Regions from separate parts of the Homo sapiens genome. Here region 2 is linked to region 1. The links are contacts of gene promoters, found by promoter capture Hi-C in human tissues and cell types (Jung and others, 2019). All regions are on one chromosome and are shown on one strand. The core of a region is centred on a gene start or on the middle of the fragment in contact, and the rest is flanking DNA. Distances in the headings are between cores, read along the strand shown.

Region 1 (3,398 bases), core at 359-2,858:
AGTGCAGTGGCATGATCTTGGCTCACTGCAACCTCCGCCTCCCAGGTTCAAGCGATTCTCCCTGCCTCAGCCTCCCAAGTAGCTGGGACTACAGACGCCCGCCACCACGCCCGGCTAATTTTTGTATTTTTAGTAGAGACGGGGTTTCGCCATGTTGGCCAGGCTGGTCTCGAACTCCTGACCTCAGGTGATCCACCCGCCTCGGCCTCCCAAAGTGCTGGGACTACAGGCGTGACCCACCACGCCCGGCCAGGTTTTTCGTTTTCAAAAATGAGGTAGGGTGTCTATTTTGCCCAGGCTGGTCTCGAACTCTTGGATTCAAGCGATATTTCCTCCTCAGCCTCCAGAGTAGCTGGTATAGACTATAGGGGCCCACTGCCCCGGCCGGCAAGATAATTATTTACTCTCACCAAATTTGATTCAATCGTTTTGGCCAAGTTTTTAAAAATAGGAATATTCCCAGGGACCATGTTTGAAGAAATACAAACTCAAGTAAGCAGAGGTGAAATGACCTGAGAGATTTGCTTTAATACACTTCGGCAAAGAAAGAAAAAAGGTATGGATGAAACTTTGTGACAAACGCAACTGTTAAATGTAGGTGATGGCATATAGGGATTCATCTCACCTTTCCTCTTTTGTCTATGCTTAAAAGTTTTCACAGTAACTTTTCAAAAAAAATTATTATTTCCAAACAAACTTACTGTCCTATCAATTAAACACAAGTCACTGGATGAGAACGCTGTTGTCTTCGAAGCCAAAACTGGTGAAGGGTCTTAAGCAAAGGCGAGGGATCCTCTAGCAGGGCCGACAGCGCGCACGTTTCCTTCAAGGCTGGATCTGACAAATCACTCGGTGCGCTCTAGGGCTCGCAGGATCGCGGAGCTCAATTTGGAAGTGGCGCACGCGGGCTCACGCCGGTGTCTCAGGGAAACGCTAGAAACGCGGCTACAGAGCTCCCAATCCCAGCCTGCGGTCGGCTTGGCTGCGGCGCGACACCTGGCTCCCTGCCACCCCTCTAGACCTCTGGAGACCTCCTGCACCACTCCCCAGGGCCCCGCCCACAGCCTACCTTCCAAGTCCTCGTCCTCCTCCGACTCGCTGTCCCCTTTGGCGTCGGCGACACGGTCCGGGCCGGGTTCTGGCGGGGGGTGGCCCAGGCTCTGGCGTGGGGTGGCGGCGGGCAGGACTGAGGCTGGGGCGCGGGCCTCGCGCAGGCGGGTGAAGTACTCCACTGCGAATTCGACGAGGTCAGGCGGCTGCTGTCGCAGCACCTCCACCGTGTAGCCCTGCAGCAGCTCCGTGAGCCCCGGCGGGATCTGGATGTGGCTCATGCCGGCGGCGGCCGAAGGGATAGACGGGTTGGGCCGCCGGCGGCCACTGTCTCCGCGCTCACTCACGCCGGCCTTTCGCTCCGCGCCCGCGAGGTCTCTTCGCGCACGGCCCCGGCTCACGTCGCGCCGCTCTTTGGCCGGCTCTGCGTTTCCGGGCCGCGCAACCCTACGCTACCACGGCCGACCTGGCACCGCCGCCGCTGTCACTGGGCAGCCGCCGCCGCCGCGGGGACCGACGGGCAGGCGAGCTGGACGGGCGGGGCAGGCGTCCTGGTTGTGACGCACGCCACCGCGGGCGTGCGCGTCCCCGCTTAGCACCGGCCCTCAGTGCGCTTGCGCCACTAGATGACCCGCCCCCTCGGGCTGTCGGGGGGTCGAGACAGTGGAGTGTTCCTGATGCCAGCTCACGGAGGGAATCCAGGGAATTAGGTAATGAACGGTCTACCCATGAAGGGGACCGATTAGTGCCTCTCGCCTGGTCCTGAAGACCTTTAAATTATTCTTTCAGCTGATGCCAAGAGCCTCTTTTTGGCCAGCACTTACTAAGCACCAGAGACACAGCGAGAAGCAGAAGCATACGAGCACATCAGTGTGATTCTGCTGTGATGAAGGGCAAGAGAGGGCTCACTTTCCGGCGTGACATTCAAGCTAGCCCCGAGGCCTGAGCAGGACCCGCCCAGGGGAAGATCTGGAGGAAAGCCATCTGAACATACAACAAGAGCAAAGGCCTGGTGGAGTCAAGACCACCTTGGCTGCCAGGTGGAATGGTGGAATAACTCAGGAGTCTGTCAGGTCTCTGAGATGTCAAACGGGTAAGGCCTTGTAGGAAGTAGGCGTTTGAATGAGATCATAATTTGAGAGCCACAGACAGAAAAATAAATTTGAAAGAGTTCACTCAGCCAAATGTGTACAGTGAGAAAGGGAAATAAGGCCAAAAGCAGCAAAGACCTCTGTGCCTGTTCCTCCTGGAGCACTTTCACCAGGGTCCCCAGATCTAGGTCTGCCCATTCCTCTCCCCACATTCTACACTGGGCCCTAGGTCAACACTGCTTGATGAAGTTGAGCAGACCACAGGCATTGTTATCCTTTGCCCCTGGGAAGATGGTATAGGTGAACTGTAGAGGCCAGACTATTTCCCAAATTGCCCTCCTCCTCCTACCAAACTGGAAGGGTATTGAAAAAGGTGGAGACCTTCCTGGGATGTCCAGTCTACAGCCTACGTGCTAACCAAAGGCCCACTGGGCATAGAGCAGAGTCCCCCTCTCCTTACAGGCCTAGCCAGGAAGAGAGTAGCTGTAGGTTTGGGAACCTGAGGGCATTTGGGATGCTTAAACACCGCCTGGTAATTACTCAGTATTAATTAAAATCCTCCCTATCACCTCCCATACAGGCTTGGCACACACCCAGGAGCTCAATGCTGCTGGGAGCTGAGCAGCTGGGAGCAAGGAGCCCTCATCCCCACTGATGAAGAGGCCAGCCCAGGTTCTAGGCTAAGCAGGCCTGTGATTATAAACAGCAGTGTCTCCCTGGACAAGTTTCTTGACCCTGAGAAGAATGTTAGACCATCAACTTTGTGAGGGGACAGGCAGTCTCCAACTTTTTTCCTGCTCAGTCCTTATTGCATACTCTTGGAGAAGGTCTACTGACTTGTTCTCAGATGCCCCACGGCTCAGCCAACCACCCATCCAGCAGAGCATTCAAAAGGCATCTGGAAGGAATGAGGGCGACCGTTCTGCCAGGCCCCTATTTTTTTTTGAGAGGAGTCTCACTCTGTCGCCCAGGCTGGAGTGCAATGGCATGACCTCTGCTCACTGCAAGCTCTGCCTCCCAGGTTCAAGCGATTCTCCTGTCTCAGCCTCCCAAGTAGCTGGTACTACAGGCGTGCACCACCACACCCAGCAAATTTTTTCTATTTTTAGTAGAGATGGGGTTTCTCCATGTTGGCCAGGATGGTCTCAATCTCTTGACCTCGTGATCCACCCGCCTCAGCCTCCCAAAGTGCTGGGATTACAGGCGTGAGCCACCGCACCTGGCTTTTTTTTTTTCTTTTAGATGGAGTCTTCCTTT
Region 2 (3,568 bases), core at 1,069-3,568, 380 kb before region 1:
CGCGCCTGCACACCACTCACGCACACACACAACATAACCAAGTGGCAGCCAGAGAGGCCAGGGAATGCTCAGAGGGCCGCCTTCGGGGCATCCATGTAGGCCGGGTTGTAAGGAGGCTGGCTGGCGGGGTAGGGCGCGGCTGCTCCTCCTGAAAGCAGAGAGGACCCTGGTTGGCTGTGAGCATGGTGGGCTGCCGTGTGAGTGGCAGGCAAGCAGAAAGGGGCAGAGGCCTGTTGAGTGATGTAGTTTGGGATGGGTGCCCGAGGGATGCTGGCAGAGACTCGGGAAGTCGGGCAGGGCTAGAGTTGGCAGGGGCACTCACCAGCCAGGGTCTCGTGGTAGGCCGGTGGGCCCATGGGCTGGGCTGGGTAAGGTGGTGGGTACTGCATTGGGTAGGGTGCTGCTGGCATCCCTGGCTGAGGCGGCATGGTGTGGTAGCCCTGGTAGCTTGGTCCAGGGTAGCTGGGCGGCACACTTGGAGGCTGAGGATAAGGGGCATGCACCACAGTGGTGGATGTGGTGGTGGTGACAACCGCTGCAAAGAGAATTCCAGTCAGGACCCTCCTCCATCTCCCCAGGTCTTGAGAGCCAGGCTTGCCACCCATCCCTCCAGCTTAGCCAAAGCAGGGCCTGGTCAGCTTCCCTTACCACCCCAGGGGGTCACAGTGGGGCAGGGTGGGCACGCTTACGACGTGGTCGGCGGCACGTCTTGTAAAGGCAGCAGCAGGAGCAGGTGAAGCAGATGATGATAGTGACGACAGACAGCACAAAGATGGTCAGGCCAACGGCCAAGGTCGCTCCGAACCTGCCAAAGAGCTAGACGTGACCCGGGGCACCTCGCCCCTCCCCAGACCAGCATCCACACCTTCCCAAGGCATGCCCCTCTTGCCAGAAGGGGTCTGGGCAATACAGTTATAGCTACTTCCTTGTCGGGTGGCCTGCACCTGTTTCAATCTGTTTCCTCTTGTGTAAACTGGGGTATATGTGAGTCCCTGTAACTGTCTCTCCCTGGGTCTCCCCCGCTTGTCCCACCCTCAGAGGCATGGGAGGAAGCTCTTCAAGTCCCATGCCACACACATACATCTATCTTGTCCACCTCACAACCAACTGATCAGCAGATGGGTATAGGGCACATGCCACAAGCCAGGCACTGTGATTTGAGTCAAAAAACTTAACAGTGGGCAAGACAGCCAGCCCTGGCCTCTGGGAGCCCACAGTCCAGTGTAGGAGGCAGACAGTGAAGATAACATGGCTCACAAAGCACAGGGTGAAGACTGAGAGAAGCCCCAGGAGGGCAGAGGCCAGTGTGGCCAGAACAGGAGGCCCCCATTGTTCCCCTGCACTCCACAACAGCCCCAGGGCAGGGAGGCTGGCCCCTGAGTGATAAGGACAGTTGCCTCTGCCTGCAAGCTTGCTGTATGCCAAGCACCGTGCCAGGGGTCACACACACCCCTGGGTCCCCCACCTCTGACCTGCATGGCCACTTCCACAGGTGAGAGGGCCAAGAGCCAAGGGGAGGACACAGAGGCCTGGAGGCAGGAGGCCAGAGGGCCTGCCCTTTGAGAAAGCAGGCCCTGGGCTGGGAAGCTCACCAAAATTGACTTCTAGGAGGGGGCAGTGGCTCATGCCTGCAATCTCAGCACTTTGGGAGGCCGAGGAGGGCGGATCACCTGAGGTGAGGTGTTCGAGACCAGCCTGGCCAACATGGTGAAACCCTGTCTCTACTAAAAATACAAAAATTAGTCGGGCACGGTGGCGGGTGCCTGTAATCCCAGCTACTTGGGAGGCTGAGGCAGGAGAATCGCTTGAACCCGAGAGGCAGAGGTTGCATTCAGCCAAGATCACGCCATTGCACTCCAGCCTGGGGACAGGAGCAAAACTCTGTCTCAAAAATGAAAGAAAAAAAAAAAAACCTGACTTCCAAATGCAGACAGAGCCCCTTACTAGCCACCCTGCCGTGTTTGCAGAGGCCAAGCTTCATTCTTTTTCTTTTTTAATTTATTTTTTGAGACAGGGTCTCACTCTGTTGCCCAGGCTGGAGTGCAGTGATATGATCACAGTTCACTGCAGCCTCCACCTCCCAGGCTCAAGTGATTCTCCCACCTCAGCCTCCCCAGTAGCTGGAACCACAGGCATGCACTACCACATTTATTTTTGCAGAGACAGGGGTCTCACTATGTTACCTAACTGGTTTCCAACTCCTGGCCTCAAGCAATCTTCCCTCCTCGGCCTCTCAAAGTGCTGAGATTAAAACTGTCTCGTGGCCAGGGTGCGGTGGCTCATGCCTGTAATCCCAGCACTTTGGGAGGCCGAGATGGGCGGATCACAAGGTTAGCAGTTTGAGACCAGCTTGGTCAACATGGTGAAACCCCGTCTCTACTAAAAATTAGCCGGTAGTCCCAACTACTCAGGAGGCTGAGGCAGGAGAATCGCTTGAACCCAGGAGGTGGAGGTTGTAGTGAGCCAAGATCGCACCACTGCACTCCAGCCTGGGGGACAGAGTGAGACTCTGTCTCAAAAAAAAAAAAAAAAAAAAAAAAGTCAGCCTTACATTTTGTACTGGATGATAAAAGATTTTAAAAAATAAAAAACGGTTGGGTGCGGTGGCTCACACCTGTAATCCCAGTACTTTGGGAGGCCGAGGCAGGTGGATCACCTGAGGTCTGGAATTCGAGAAAGTATAAAAAAAATTAGCCGGACATGATGGTGGGTGCTTGCAATCCCAGCTACTTGGGAGGCTAAGGCAGGAGAATCTCTTGAACCCAAGGAGGCAGAGATTGCAGTGAGCCAAGATCACACCATTGCACTCCAGCCTAGGCAACAAAAGCGAAACTCCATCTCAAAAAAGTAAATAAATAAAAAATAAAAATAAAAAACTGGCCAGGCGCGGTGGCAACACTTCTAGAGGCCGAAGTGGGCGGATCGCTTGAGGTCAGGAGTTCTAGACTACCCTGGCTAACATGGTAAAACCCTGTCTCTACTAAAAATACAAAAATTAGCAGGGCGTAGTGGCGCAAAACTGTAGTCCCAGCTACTCAGGAGGCTGAGGCAGGAGAATCGCTTGAACCAAGGAGGGAGGTTGCAGTGAGCTAAGATTGTGCCACTGCACTCCAGCCTGAGCAACAGTGGGAGACTCCGTCTCAAAAAATTAAAAAATAAAATAAATAGGCCAGGCGCAGTGGTTCATGCCTGTAATCCTAACACTTTGGGAGGCCGAGGCAGGCGGATCGCCTGAGGTCAGGAATTTGAGACCAGCCTGGGCAACATAGTGAAACCCCATCTCTACTAAAATACAAAAAAAAAAAGAATTAGCCGGGCGTGGTGGCACGTGCCTGTGGTCCCAGCTACTGGGGAGGCTGAGGCAGAAGAATCACGTGAACCCATGAGGCGGAGGTTGCAGTGAGCAGAGATCGCGCCACTGCACTCCTGCCTGGGTGACAGAGCGAGACTCTGTCTCCAAAAAAATAAAAAATAATAAGTTTTTTTTAAAAGGTGTCAGCCACCATGCCCAACCCAAGCTTTATTCCAACAAAAGGCAAATGCTTGGTAACTGCATCAAACACATCCA

What was found. Contacts are between HindIII fragments. The study calls those that stand out against the background at their distance.
Region 2: a contact is called between a fragment that was not itself captured here and the fragment with the promoter of PRKAR2A in region 1, in 1 of the 25 tissues and cell types used here (aorta).

What each region holds. Positions count from the first base shown.
Region 1 is chr3:48,846,266-48,849,663 of GRCh38, forward strand. It overlaps PRKAR2A (protein kinase cAMP-dependent type II regulatory subunit alpha), which reads right to left and starts at 1,609. Exons shown (of 11, transcript NM_004157.4): 1 at 1,070-1,609. The coding sequence starts at 1,331. PRKAR2A-AS1 (PRKAR2A antisense RNA 1) reads left to right here and starts at 1,672. Exons shown (of 3, transcript NR_109997.1): 1 at 1,672-1,760; 2 at 1,840-2,143; 3 at 2,722-3,398. RefSeq lists a silencer at 1,422-1,751. The HindIII fragment of the contact is 13,078 bases long and covers 1-3,398 here.
Region 2 is chr3:48,469,039-48,472,606 of GRCh38, forward strand. SHISA5 (shisa family member 5) reads right to left here. Exons shown (of 6, transcript NM_016479.6): 4 at 690-805; 5 at 323-535; 6 at 1-148. The coding sequence ends at 69. Among named protein-coding and RNA genes, the nearest start is that of TREX1, 4.6 kb to the left of the region's middle. RefSeq lists enhancers at 883-1,032, 3,512-3,568. The HindIII fragment of the contact is 3,683 bases long and covers 478-3,568 here.